Regions from separate parts of the Homo sapiens genome. Here regions 1, 2, 4 and 5 are each linked to region 3. The links are contacts of gene promoters, found by promoter capture Hi-C in blood cells and fetal thymus (Javierre and others, 2016). All regions are on one chromosome and are shown on one strand. Each heading gives the region's core, a stretch centred on a gene start or on the middle of the fragment in contact. The rest is flanking DNA. Distances are from core to core; before and after follow the strand shown. Region 1 overlaps TOP2B (DNA topoisomerase II beta). Region 2 has its middle 20 kb from the start of MIR4442. Region 3 holds the start of LINC00692 (long intergenic non-protein coding RNA 692). Region 4 overlaps TOP2B (DNA topoisomerase II beta). Region 5 has its middle 50 kb from the start of MIR4442.

The links. The method cuts DNA at HindIII sites, captures the fragments that hold promoters and counts their contacts. A CHiCAGO score of 5 or more calls a contact.
Region 1: a contact is called between a fragment that was not itself captured here and the fragment with the promoter of LINC00692 in region 3, in 2 of 17 cell types (total CD4 T cells and activated CD4 T cells). The highest score is 5.8, in total CD4 T cells.
Region 2: a contact is called between a fragment that was not itself captured here and the fragment with the promoter of LINC00692 in region 3, in 3 of 17 cell types (naive B cells, activated CD4 T cells and total CD4 T cells). The highest score is 7.0, in naive B cells.
Region 4: a contact is called between a fragment that was not itself captured here and the fragment with the promoter of LINC00692 in region 3, in 10 of 17 cell types (naive CD4 T cells, total CD4 T cells, naive CD8 T cells and 7 more). The highest score is 8.6, in naive CD4 T cells.
Region 5: a contact is called between a fragment that was not itself captured here and the fragment with the promoter of LINC00692 in region 3, in 1 of 17 cell types (activated CD4 T cells). The highest score is 5.2, in activated CD4 T cells.

The regions. Positions count from the first base shown.
Region 1 is chr3:25,630,953-25,633,652 of GRCh38, reverse strand. TOP2B (DNA topoisomerase II beta) reads left to right here. Exons shown (of 36, transcript NM_001330700.2): 9 at 859-960; 10 at 1,070-1,207. Among named protein-coding and RNA genes, the nearest start is that of TOP2B, 33 kb to the left of the region's middle. The HindIII fragment of the contact is 4,013 bases long and covers 1-2,700 here.
Region 2 is chr3:25,683,222-25,685,921 of GRCh38, reverse strand. No RefSeq gene overlaps it. Among named protein-coding and RNA genes, the nearest start is that of MIR4442, 20 kb to the right of the region's middle. The HindIII fragment of the contact is 642 bases long and covers 1,121-1,762 here.
Region 3 is chr3:25,872,260-25,874,959 of GRCh38, reverse strand. LINC00692 (long intergenic non-protein coding RNA 692) reads left to right here and starts at 1,265. Exons shown (of 8, transcript NR_034055.1): 1 at 1,265-1,319; 2 at 2,478-2,645. LOC124909357 (a long non-coding RNA gene) reads right to left here and starts at 1,182. Exons shown (of 2, transcript XR_007095849.1): 1 at 957-1,182. The HindIII fragment of the contact is 8,581 bases long and covers 1-2,700 here.
Region 4 is chr3:25,651,390-25,654,089 of GRCh38, reverse strand. All of the region lies in intron 1 of TOP2B (DNA topoisomerase II beta), which reads left to right. Among named protein-coding and RNA genes, the nearest start is that of TOP2B, 12 kb to the left of the region's middle. The HindIII fragment of the contact is 3,592 bases long and covers 1-2,700 here.
Region 5 is chr3:25,713,814-25,716,513 of GRCh38, reverse strand. No RefSeq gene overlaps it. Among named protein-coding and RNA genes, the nearest start is that of MIR4442, 50 kb to the right of the region's middle. The HindIII fragment of the contact is 599 bases long and covers 1,088-1,686 here.

The DNA of each region.
Region 1 (2,700 bases), core at 74-2,573, 240 kb after region 3:
TTGAGAAATAAATTTATATGACTAGTGTTTGTAGTTGAACATATTTATATTTTATGAAATTTAGAATAACAAATTCCTTTTTCTGTAACTTTTAGCCCCACCTTCCCCAACCTCTGGGGAGAGGAGAGGGGGCTGGTGACTGAGTTAAAAATCAATTATGGCTATGTGATAAAGCTCTGTAAAAACTCCTGAACAATGGAGTTCACAGAACTCCTAGGTTGGTGAATACATTTGAGGTGCCAAGAGGGTGGCATGTCTGGGTAAGGCATGGAGCTTTGTGTACCCTTTCCCCTGTACTATGCCCTATGCATCTCTTCCATTTGGCTATTATTGCTGGATCCTATATAAAAAACTTGTAAATGAAGTAAAGTGTGTTCTTGAGTTCTGTGACCTGTTCCAGCAAATTATCATTCCTGAGGAGTGGGTCATAGGTTCGTTAGAAGTACAGGAGGCCTAGGACTTGTAACTGGCATCTGAAGTGTGGGGAGTCCTGTGGGATTGAGCCCTTAACCAACCCTAAATACTTGTGCTAACTCCAGGTAGTTAGTATCAAAATTGAATTACATTGTTGAACATCCATTTGGTGTCTGGAGAATCAGAGAATTGGTTGCTGGTGTTGAAAGCACCTGAGAATTGGTGTTAGAATTGAAGTGAGGAAAGCAAACAAACAAACAAACAAAAAAAACACAGCGGTTGGTTTATTGGCTCTGTAGCCAAAATGTCTTATTTTTTTAAAATCTCAACTCTCGTTCTGAGACTCTATTACTCTTTTAGAAAATAGGGTTTATAATACAGATAAAGTATTTTGCTACTTTAACAATACAGGATTTCAGATTTCATATATTTTTTTTTCTTTAGGGTGGACGGCACGTGGATTATGTGGTAGATCAAGTTGTTGGTAAACTGATTGAAGTAGTTAAGAAAAAGAACAAAGCTGGTGTATCAGTGAAACCATTTCAAGTAAGGGATGTGTTATATATTGTACATGATGCATACATATGCATTATATATATACTGAATTACTAAATATCAGCTCTGATATTGACTTTTTTGGGTATGTTTTCAACAGGTAAAAAACCATATATGGGTTTTTATTAATTGCCTTATTGAAAATCCAACTTTTGATTCTCAGACTAAGGAAAACATGACTCTGCAGCCCAAAAGTTTTGGGTCTAAATGCCAGCTGTCAGAAAAATTTTTTAAAGCAGTGAGTAAAACTTGTATTTTTTTTATTGTTGTTATTAAGAGTTGATTAGGTAGTTTTCTTGATTTACTTTATTTGTGATTAGTTTCTTTCATCGTATTAACTGTGGGTATAAGCATGCTTGCACTACAAACTAATATGCTTAATTTGATAACTTTAAAGGGTAGACTTTAATGTTTCCTAAAACAATTGTTTTGCCAAGAACTAAAGTAGGGAATTATGTAACTAATTGCATTTTTAGCTTTGTATTGACCATTGTAAAGGTCAGATTTCCCCTAACAGATGTCCAGATCCTTATGCAACTCTTTCATCTTTTCTACTCTCATTTCAACTTGATCTACTGATTCTTATCTTTATACATGTTTAAAAATTGTGGTAACATGTATAACAAAATGTACTATTTTCTACATGTTCTTAAATTGCTTTGCTTTGCACATAATTTTTTTAGGCTACCTTAACTTCTCTAAAATAAGGTGAGAGCACAAATAAATAATGGAGATGAATCAATCACAGCCTCTCCTCTTTGGAATTTTGGTGGGGAAATGCTCTATAACTGCCCTAGAACTAATGTATTTCTCAAATTCCAAAAAGTAGATTATCAGAAACAAAAACAAAAGTTGTTTTTTAGGTTCTAACTTAAGGCCTGTAGAAATAGTACTTTTGGATCTAATCTTAATGAATTCTGAGTACAAATTATGCTATATTAATGCTTTCCCAAATTTCTGTCCTCATAACAATTGTTTCCTTGATGAAGTGATTTGATTTTAAATTTTATACTTTTTCATTTTAGGTGCACTAAGTTTAAATTTGACAACACAGTTCACCTCTTTTGTTTATGTCTTAAACATTCCAGAAAACTGTTTTATACACCTAACATCAAATCACCGAGGATGATAAAAAAACTTTTAGGACTTAGAGTTGGAGATGCTTAACTTTCTTTTCCTTTTTCTGTCTGGGTTAACATCTTGCCACAGATTGATTCACTGCAGAGTACAAACAATATGTAATGTTGAAATCTTTATTACCAAGCTATTTAAAGAATAAAAGTCTATTCATAAGTTACCAAGGTTATCCTAATGTTCCTTTTAGGTTAATACTTTTTGTCATAGTGAATTAAAGACTCACGTTTTGTATTGAAGGATATCAGAAATGTCAACGTCTGGAATTTGCCGGCTAGTAGGTTCATGTGTGGATCTGTTTTCACTGTGTTAATTTTAATAAAATTAATTTGTAACAAGAGCAATGCATATTCCTCATGGAGTTTATTATAATAGAATGTTTCTCATATGTAAAAGTTATCCTTTTTCATGTATTTATATTTTAGCTTTAATTTTACAGTAGTTGAGTAAAAGCTGATTAGCATGTATCATGATGCTTATCACCATTATTGTTTTGCCCTAAAATACCTTAAAATTGCACAGATTCCAGGTCTTGCATTAGGCCCTATACATTTTAGCTAAATGTATGAATTTTCAGCTTGTTTGTATACCATTATT
Region 2 (2,700 bases), core at 192-2,691, 190 kb after region 3:
TCTCCATATTTATAATATCCTTGGAGCCAAGGACATTTGTCTTCCTTTCCATGGTGCCTATAAAATGATGGTTATGTGGTTGGTGTTCAATAAATACTTGTAGGTTGGTTTATTTAAGGCCTAGACTCCCTGTTTGTAGCTCTCTTTAAACTTGAACCCTAACTCATAGCTCTTTTTAACCTGATATTTAGCCTAATTGAAATTACTTTAATTGTTATACATTGTTGATGAAATATACCTCTACAACTCTAAGAAGAGCTAGAAATTTAAACTATAGCTTTTATTTTGTTTTTTACATCCTAACGTCTTTTTCTTTTTTTTTTTTTTACTAAAAATAGGACATTGTGTGACTTCATGTTGTTGCTTTAAAAAAAATACAGGACATTGCTTAAAGTCCTGATTTGTAATTACAGTAAGAGTAAGTCAAAATCTTATATTGCAAAATAGCTAAGCATAGATTTTTTTCTTTTTTCAAAAATGAACTCAGCTTCAATTTTAAGAGTCCTCCTGTGACTACCAGGGATTCAGCTCCATAAAATCCCATAAAATCTCTTCTATAAAATGATTCCATCCCTGCTGTGTGCATTTATTTTCTGCTTCTTCCTCTAGTTCACTGTTTTAATGTGGGGTTCAAGGACTACTTGCATTGAAATTGTCTGTACTGCTTGTTGTATAGATTCTTGACCCTCCTCTCAAGTCCTTCTATATCCCAACCAGGGCAGTGAGGGTGGCAGCTTGTCACCCACATTTTTTTCTCCAGATGCTTCTTAAAGAAGCTAAATTTGAATACATTGTTACTGCTATTTTCTTAGCTGTGGTTCTCTTGTTCAACTTCCAGCTCTGGATTGGCTTTATATTTCTGTTTCTATTCTTCATCTTCCATACCCTACCCCTGCTTCCAACTTTGGCACTTCGCTAACAACTCTCTTCTCTCAGTCATGGTCTCATGCTCTACCTGCTAACATGGAAATTTGGGAGTAGCCACTGTTACAAGATTGCTTTCCCTCCTCACTTTAGTCTCTGTAGCCATAGTCACCAGAGACGCTAAAAACCATTCTATTTGGTGTGTGTAGTGCGATAGATCAGTGCTACTCACAGGAGACTATGAATGAGATAAGCTTGTGCTTGGATAAGCAGCACACTTTCTTTTCAAGAAAGTCTTGTTACATTTTTATAGTGGTGCAAGCTCCTTAGCGCTTTGTGGACCAATAACCCATGGTCCATGGAAGCAACCATTCCACTGAGCACATTTTGAGGCCTGTGCTACAGATTTTTGGGGGAAATGGCTTCACTGAGATATAATTAATATACCATAAAATTCACCCATTTCAAGGTTACACAAAGTATATTCAAAGAGTTGTGCAACCCTCACCACAGTCAATTTTAGAACATTTTCATCACCTTGAAAAGAAACCCTGTGCCCTTAAGCTGTCACTCCCAATCCTCCAATCCTGTCCTCCCCCAGGCTTAATAAATCACTAATATACTGTCTGTCTATATTTGCCTCTTCTGGATATTTCATATAAATGAAATCATATAATATGTGATCTTTCATGGCTGGCTTCTTTCATTTTAGCATGTTTTCAAAATTTGTCCATATTGTAGCTTGTAATAGTATTTCATTCATTTGATGGCCAAATAATATCCCATTACGTAGATATACCACATTTTGTTTATTCATTCATCCATTGATGGGTATTTGGATTGTTTCCACCTTTTGGATACTGTGAATAATACTGCTATGAACATCCACGTACAAGCTTTTTTTGTGAGCATATGTTTTCACTTCTCTTGGGTATACAGCTAGAAGTGAAATTGCTGAGTCAAATGATGGTTCTGCATTGAAATTTCTGAGGAACTGTCAAACTTTTCCACCATTTTACATGCCTACCAGCAGTGTATGAGTGTTCTTCACTCCACTTTCTGGCCAACATTTACTAGCCTCCATGTCTTTGGTTATAGCCATTTTACAGGTGTGAAGTGGAAGCTCATTGTGATTTTCATTTGTGTTTCCCTGATGACTATTGATATAGAGCATCTTTTCATGCATTTATTGGCTATTTGTATATCTTCTTTGGAGAAATGTCAATTCAGATTTTTTAATTGAGTTACTTGTTTTATTATTGGGGATTGTAAGAGTTTTTCACTGAAAACAAGTCCATTAGATATGATTTGCAAATATTTTCTCCCATTCCATGGGTTGTCTTTTCACTCTCTTAATGGTATCCTTTGCAGCACAAAAGCTTAATTTTGATAAAGTCCAATTTATTTATTTTTACTGAGGCTCATGGGTTTGGTGTTTAAGAATTTATTGCGAAATCCAAGTTCATAAATATTTATCCCTATATTTTTATCTGAGAGTTTTATAGTTTTGACTCTCCCATTAAGGCCTTTGATCCATTTGGGATTAATTTTTGTATATAATGTGAAGTAAGGGTCCAACTTTAGTCTTTTGCATGTGGCTATCCAGTTGTTTCAGCACCATTTGTTGAAAAGACTATTCTTTCCCTATTGAATGATCTTGGCACCCTGGTTGAAAATCATTTGACTGTAGATATATGGGTTTATTTCTGGACTCTCAATTCTATTCCATTGACTTATATGTCTATTCTTATGCCAGTTCCTTACTGTCTTCATTACTGTGGCTTTCTAGTAAGTTTCCAAATTGGGAAGTATTGATCTTTTTTTTTTTTCTTTTTG
Region 3 (2,700 bases), core at 16-2,515:
AAACCTAAAAAGGACTGGGTAGAAGTGGGGTCAAGATAGGAAAGCCAAACATTCAGGTTTCCTCTGCATTCGCATCAATTATCTGTACGTCAAGTGGTAAAGGCAGCAGCTACGGAAGCTAAGCTAACAGTTATTGCCGGGCGCGGTGGCTCATGCCTGTAATCCCAGCACTTTGGGAGGCCGAGGCGGGCACATCATGAGGTCAGGAGATCGAGACCATCCTGTGAATGGTGAAACTCCGTCTCTACTAAAAATACAAAAAATTAGCCAGGCGTGGTGGCGGGCACCCGTAGTCCCAGCTACTCAGGAGGCTGAGGTGGGAGAATGACGTGAACCCGGGAGCAGAGTTTGCAGTGAGCCAAGATTGCACCACTGCACTCCAGCCTGGGAGACAGAGCGAGACTCCTCTCAAAAAAAAAAAAAAAAAAAAAAACAGTTATTAGAGGTAGTTCAAAGGCCTGGAGGCCAAACTTTGAAAGCAGAGGTGATGAAAGTCTTGGGTACCAGGGATCAAGAGCAAGTCAAGCATCTGAAACACAAAAAGGTCAACGCAGAGGTAAAGAGGACAACAGGATTTCAGTGGCCAAAGTACACATGAATACAGAATTGTGAATGTCATATGGAGCAAAACACTGGCAACAAGAATAAGAATGCAAGAATGTCTGATTTGTGAAAGAATCATGATATGTTATGAAAATTGATACTTTCTGATTTCTTCTATACATCTTACTAATTATAAATTATTCTGAGTTGACCAGTAAATGCAGAAAGTATTTAAACCAGCCAGAGCCCAGGAGTGTTCTGGATACAGGTGAGCTCTGTTGGCATCTGGAACAGAAGAACTGGATGTGGCAGATTGCACCTTCCAAAGATGATCACCATAGTATCTCCTATCTAATACGCTGTTCCGCAATATGACTTTGACATTTCCTCATCAAGAAGTGGAGTCTTATTACCTTACTCTGGGCTTGGCTTTACTGGCTTGTTGAACCAGCAGAATATGACAGAAGTGACACTCCAACCTCTGAAAAGACTGTAAAAACACCTTGCAATTTCTACCTGAGCCTCTTAAAAGGATCACTCTTGGGATGCTGTCTCTGAGGACTGTGGCCATATGAAAGGTCTCAGCCACATGAAAAGGTTATTGGTTGGTGTTCAGGCATGTAGCTCCAGCAGAACTCCTAGGAAACAGTCATCATCAACTGCCAGCCATGCCACATTCCAACTCAACTGAACCTTTAGACGAATGTAGCCCTAGCCTCTATTTGACTTCAACTACAAGAGAGATGCCAAGCTGAGACCAGTTAAGCCACAGAACTGTGAGATATAAAAATAAATTGTTATTTTAAGCCATGTGTTTCAAGGCGGCTTGCTATGTAGCAATAGATAATCAGTACCTAGGGTTACAGGGATGATTTTTTAAATTATCTCTATCTATGGCTAGTAATACTGGGGCCATGACACTTACAGTTATCAACTCCAGCAGACTCAGAAATTCACTCAGCTCCCCTACTCCACCCTTTTTGGTTCTCCAATAAAATGTTTGGTGATGGATGGCTCTGGAAGTTAAATGAGACTTGGTATTACCTGGGAAATTTTGATTTGCAGCAACTCCACAATGACTATTATTGCACATAACTGAGATGTGACTAGAGCCTGGAACAACTGAAAACGCAGAAAAGTCTGTATTATAAGACCAGGGTGGAGAGCAAGTACTGAAGATAACTGAGTGATCACTAAAATACATCAGAGAATCCACACTCTCGTGATAAGTGGCATTTGAAGGGAGAAATTTTCCAGAGAGATAAATGAGACCTTTCTCAATTAATATCAGTACTTGTGTTGCTTGTTATATTGTTGCATTTCCTCCTGAAATATTACAGGCACCAGGCTATTTCACTTACCTCCAAACCTTCAATTGTTTAGTCTCTGTTAATGCAAGGTCATAATGCAGAACACAGATCCTCAGTTTACAGTCAATCCTCAATTATTCAAGGCTTATGGAGTTACAGCGCAGTCCAGTAGATCTCTGCTTAAATATTGGTTTCATTGACATTTGGACACATCTGGAAATTCAGTCTGCTTAATTTTGATTTTGCTGACATCACAACTCAGTTATTTGAACTCTAAATACCTAATCACCTCTAGTGCAAGTTTGAGCTAGATGGACGGCAGGAGAGAAGTAAACATTTATAGATTGTCTTTTGCATTTTACATACATTATCTAATTTAGTCCCCACAGCAATTCAATGAGATATTACTATCCTTATTTCATAGAAAATGAAACTCAGGCTCAGAAAGTTCAACTTAAGTTTGCTTCCTTCCCCATTTTGTTGCTTAACAATATAATTAAGAGAATAGACTCTAGAATCAAACAGACTGGAATTATCTTTTTATCATAATATGTTTTTATTAAAATGAGTTTTTAAATGTATAGTTTATCTGTTTTTATATCTGGCAGTTTCTCTATGATTTAGCTTTCAGAAAAGTCATATTGTTCTCAAATGACCTAGCTTTTACCTTCGTTAACTCAAACCTGCACCCATCTGAAGTGAAACCAGCAACCATTTAACAGCAAACAGTAGCAGCAGCATGCACCAAAAGAGAATGGAAAGTGAAAAGAACACAACAGATCATTTTAAAAGGTACATGCCCTAGAATTTTTTGACAATGTTTGAGCGTGGTTCTCAAAACTACAAT
Region 4 (2,700 bases), core at 161-2,660, 220 kb after region 3:
TACTATCTTGAATATTGATAATATTGGGCATCCTTGCCTTGTTCCTCCTGATCTTAGAGGAAAAGTTTTTAGTCTTTCACCAGTATATGTGCTGTTAGCTGTTGGCTTTGTGTGTATTGCTTTTATTATATTGAGGTGTTTTCTTTCTATTTCTAGTTTGTTATGTGTTTTTATCAGGAAAGTGTGTTGAATTTTGTCAAATGCTTTTTGCACATCAATTGAGATGATAATGTGTTTTTTGCCCTTCATTTTGTTAATATAGTGTAGTACAATGATTTGTTTTCATATTTGGAAACATCCTTGCATTTCAAGTATAAATCCCATTTGCTTATTGTGTGTAATCCTTTTAATGTGCTGTTGGGTCAGGCATGGTGGCTCCTGCCTGTAATCCCAGCACTTTGGGAGGCCAATGCAGGAGAATCGCTTGCGGCCAGGAGTTTAAGACCATCCTGGACAATATGGTAAAACCTTGTCTCTAGAAGAAATTTTAAAATTAGCCAGGTGTGGAGGCACACAGTTGTAGTACTAGCTACTTGGGGCAGGGGTTGTGGGGTATTAAGGAGGAGGGTGGGTGTGCTGAGGTGGGAGGATCACTTGAGCCTGGGAGGTTGAGGCTGCAGTGAGCCATTGTCATGCCACTGCACTCCAGTGTGGGCAACAAAATGAGACCCTCTCTTAAAAAAAAAAAGTGCTATTGAATTGAGTTTGCCAGTATTTTTGGGGGGATTTTTTGCATCAGTCTTTATCACGGGTATTGTTCTGTAGTCCTCTTGTTCTGTCTTCTAGTTTTTGTATCAGAGAAATGCTGGCTTCATAGAATGATTCTGGAAGTGTTCCCTGCCCCTCATTTTTTGGTAAGAGTTTGAAGAGTTAATTCTTCTTTGATTATTTGGTAGAATTTTCAAGTGAAGCCATCTGGTACTGGGCTTTTCTTTGTTGGGAAGTTTTTGATTACTGTTTCATCTTCTTATTTGTTATAGGGCTGTTGAGATTTTTTATTCATGATTCAGTCTTGGTAGATTATATGTTTGGAATGTATTCATTTCTTCTAGGTTATCTAATCTGTTGCCATATGTGTGGTCATGTAAGTCTTTTATAATCTTTATTTCTGTGACATCAATTATAATGTCCCCTTTCGTTTCTAATTTTAGTTATTTGATTATCTCTTTTTTTTCTTATGTAATCTAGCTAACGATTTGTCAGTTTTGTTAATTTTTTCAAAAAACAAACTCTTGGTTTCATTGATTTTTTTTCCTCATTGTTTTTCTATTCTCTATTTTATTTATCTTTGTTTTAATCTTTATTTCCCTTCATTAATTTGGTTTAGTTTCTCTTTTCCTAGTTCTTTGAAAGGGTCTAAAGTTAGGTTGTTAATTCGAGATCTTTACTGATTGTTAATGTTAGGTGTAATACTGTTTTAGCTGCATTACATAAATATTGCTCTATTGTGTTTTGGTTTTCATTTGTCTCCTGATATTTTCTAAATTCGCTTGTGATTTCATCTCTCACCCATTGGTTATATGAGAGTGAGTTGTTTAACTTCCACTTATTTGTGGATTTTACTGTTTTCCTTCTACTATTGATTTCTAGTTTAATTCCATTTTTGATGGAAAATATACCTTATATGATTATAGTCTTCTTAAGTTTGTTAAGACTTGTTTTGTCACGTAACATGTGGTCTTTGTTGGAGAATGTTCCAAGTGCAATTGAAAAGAATGTGTATTCTCCTGTTGTTGATTGGAGTGTTCTGAGTATGTCTGTTAGGTCCAATTGGTCTATAGTGTTGTTCAAGTTCTTTGTGTCTTTATTGATCTTCTGTGTGGTTGTTCTATCCATAACTGAAAGTGGGCTAGTGAAGTCTCCTACTATTATTGTGTTGGTCTCTCTCTCCCTTCACTTCTGTCAGTGTTTGCTCATAAATTTGGGAACTGTAATGTTAGATGCATATCTTACTGGTGAATTGACCCTTTTATCATATAATGTCCTACTCTGTCTCTTGTGACAGTTTTTATCTTAAACTCTATGTTGTCTGATGTAAGTACGGCCACTCTCTTCAGATTCCAGTTTTCTGGAATATCTTTTTCCATCCTTTTATTTGTAGCCTTTGTGCATCTTTGGATCTGAAGCAGATGTCTTGTAAACAACCTGTAGTTGGATCTTATTTTTTTATTCCATTGGCCAATCTATGTCTTTTATTTGGGCACTTAATCTTTTTTTTTTTTTTTGAGACACAATCTCCCTCTGTTGTCCAGGCTGAAGTACAGTGGCACAATCTTGGCTCACTGCAACCTCTGCCTCAGGTTCAAGTGATTCTTCTGCCTCAGCCTCCCGAGTAGCTGGGATTACAGGTGGCTGCCACCATGCCTGGCTAATTTTTGTATTTTTAGTAGAGATGGCGTTTTACCATATTGGCCATGCTGGTCTCTTAACTCCTGACCTCAAGTGATCTGCCCACCTTGGTCTCCCAAAGTGCTGGAATTACAGATGTGAGCCACCGCTCCTGGCCCAATTTATATTTAAAGTAATTATTGACATGGACTCACTATTGCCATTTTGATTATTTTTTTATATGTCTTATAGCTTTTTTGTCCATCTTTCTTCCCTTGCTGCCTTCTTTTGTGTTTCATTGATTTTTTTTTTTTTTAGTGACATGTTTTGATTTTCTTCTAATTTCTCTTTGTGTATATTCTACAGATATTT
Region 5 (2,700 bases), core at 138-2,637, 160 kb after region 3:
AAATGGAAAAACCTAACATCCTCATGGATAGGAAGAATTAATATCATGAAAATGGCCATACTGCCCAAAGTAATTTATAGATTCAATGCTGGTCCCATCAAACTACCATTAACATTGTTCACAGAATTAGAAAAAAATTAAATTTCATATGGAACCACAAAAGAGTCCGTATAGCCATGACAATCCTAAGCAAAGAGAACAAAGCTGGAGGCATCATGTTCCCTGACTTCAAACTATACTACAAGGCTAGAGTAATCAAAACAGCATGGTATTGGTACTAAAACAGACATATAGACCAATGGAACAGAACAGAGACCTCAGAAAAATACACATCTACAACCATTGCGACAAACCTGACAAAAACAAGCAATGGGGAAAGAATTCCGTATTTAATAAATGGTCCTGGGAAAACTGGCTAGCCATATGCAGAAAACTGAAACTGGTCCCCTTCCTTATACAAAAATTAACTCAAGATGGATTAAAGACCTAAAACACTTTACTTTTTTTGTTTTGTTTTGTTTTGTTTGTTTGTTTGTTTTTGAGACCGAGTCTCATTCTGTCACCCAGGCTGGAGTGCAGTGGCACAATCTTGGCTCACTGCAAGCTCTGCCTCCCGGGTTCACTCCATTTTCCTGCCTCAGCCTCCCAAGTAGTTGGGACTACAGGCGCCCACCACCACGCCTGGCTAATTTTTTGTATTTTTAGTAGAGACGGGGTTTCACCGTGTTAGCCAGGATGGTCTCGATCTCCTGACCTCATGATCTGCCTGCCTCGGCCTCCCAAAGTGCTGGGATTACAGGCGTGAGCCACTGCGCCCAGCCAAAAACACTTTTCATAAATATATTTCATGAGATTTTCAACCCTGAGCCTACCCAATATATGTTAGTAGATATTTTATTATTCAGAAAAGTTTGGAAATGGTACAGAAGGTATGGGACAACACAGTTCTTGATGATGTGAAAAGTTAAGTGACAGTAAACTGGTAAGGCAAAAGTAACTTAGGCAAAGAATGGCCGATAGTACAGACCCCTCAGTGAGCGACCAATATTAAGGTACATTTTATTTAGGATCTTCTGATTAATAAGCTTTCCACTGCCATTGCACATTATTTAAAAAGAATCTATACCCTGGTTTCAGGTCAGATCCCATCATGATGAATTCCACAGACACTGCTTGTTGCTGCAGTGTTTTATTTTTAAGAAAGTCCTTTGCTGGAAACCACATTCTCATGGTGAACGAGAAGTACATCTGATGCTTTGATCAATTCACAAGGAAAATAGTGCTTCTGATTAAAGGAGGGCCAGAGAACACTTTGTCATAGAACACTTCTGAGATAGAAAGGGTTGTTAGAGATAATTTAACCCAGATTTCTTACTTTTCCAATGAGGAAAACTCAAGCCCAGAGAAGGGAAATGACCTGTCCTGACAATTCAATGAATCAGTGGTGTAGGCAAGATTCATTTCTACATCTATCAAGTTGCAAGTTTATAGAATCAGAGACCTGTAAGTGGGTTGCTGTTTTAATAGGTGTTATGTGAATATAGATACTTTAATAGAAATGTTCAAGTTGAGAAGGTGTTACAATTGAAGTTAGAAGTTATTAATATTGAAATATAGAAACTTTAATAGAAATGTTCAAGTTGAGGTGTTATAATTGAAATTGATTTTTCTAACCATAGTTAAGCTTTTCTAAAGACTTTTTTTCGTCTACAACAATAAGTTGTGTTTTGATTTTATAGTACCAGCAGATACACTCTTCATAAACTAATAACGGATCCAGGTAGCACACCTTCCTTAAATACTTTTGGGAGAAGAAGAGGAAACCAATACAGGTCATGATTGGTTTTATTTCTCTTAGCATGTATTCAGTTACACTCTGCATATTGACCAAAACAGTTTTATTTCTAATAAGAGATTTAGAATAGACCTAAACCAATAGTCACCACTTTTTGAGTTTTTCCTAAGTGCCAGTGACTTTCATTGTCTCATTTGATCATGATGGCATTGTACAGTAGATACTGTATCTTATCCCCATTTTATAGATGATGAAACTGAAGAATTAAGTGGGAGCCAGTATTTTAATGGCTGTGTGTCCAACACCCCTTTCCTATTTCTTAAGCCACAGTGAAAACAGACTTAGAAGTTGCGACCTTGCTCTCTTCTCTCTTAGTTTTCTGAAGACTTGCTCTGGGCATAACGAAATTGTTTTAAAACGATATAACAAAATATTATAAAGTAAAAGTGCTGCCTCCACTTCCCATGCTCTACATTATTTTCCAAGTTAACTGCCAAAAATTTTACATGTGTCCTTCTAAAGGTTTCCTGTGGATTTTCATGTCTATATATGTATACACAGAAACATATACACACACACAGTTTTCATGTGTTTGCTTTTTTATGTAAATGAAAGTATATCCTTTTCCCGCTTGTTTTTTAACTGAAATCATTCCTTGGTCAGTCATGGTTCTGCTACACTTATTTTTAACTGCTTCACAGAATTCCGTAATTTATCCATTCTATTATTTACAGATATTTAGATTTTTCCCTTTTTTTGGTTATTAAAAGCCCTGCTACAATCAGCATCCTTCTACACATTTCTCTTACATAAAATACATGCAAAGGTATGTGCATTTTAAATCTGACTAGCTACTGTCAAATTGCCCTCTAAAGATAATTTACACACCCAGCAGTAGTGGTTGA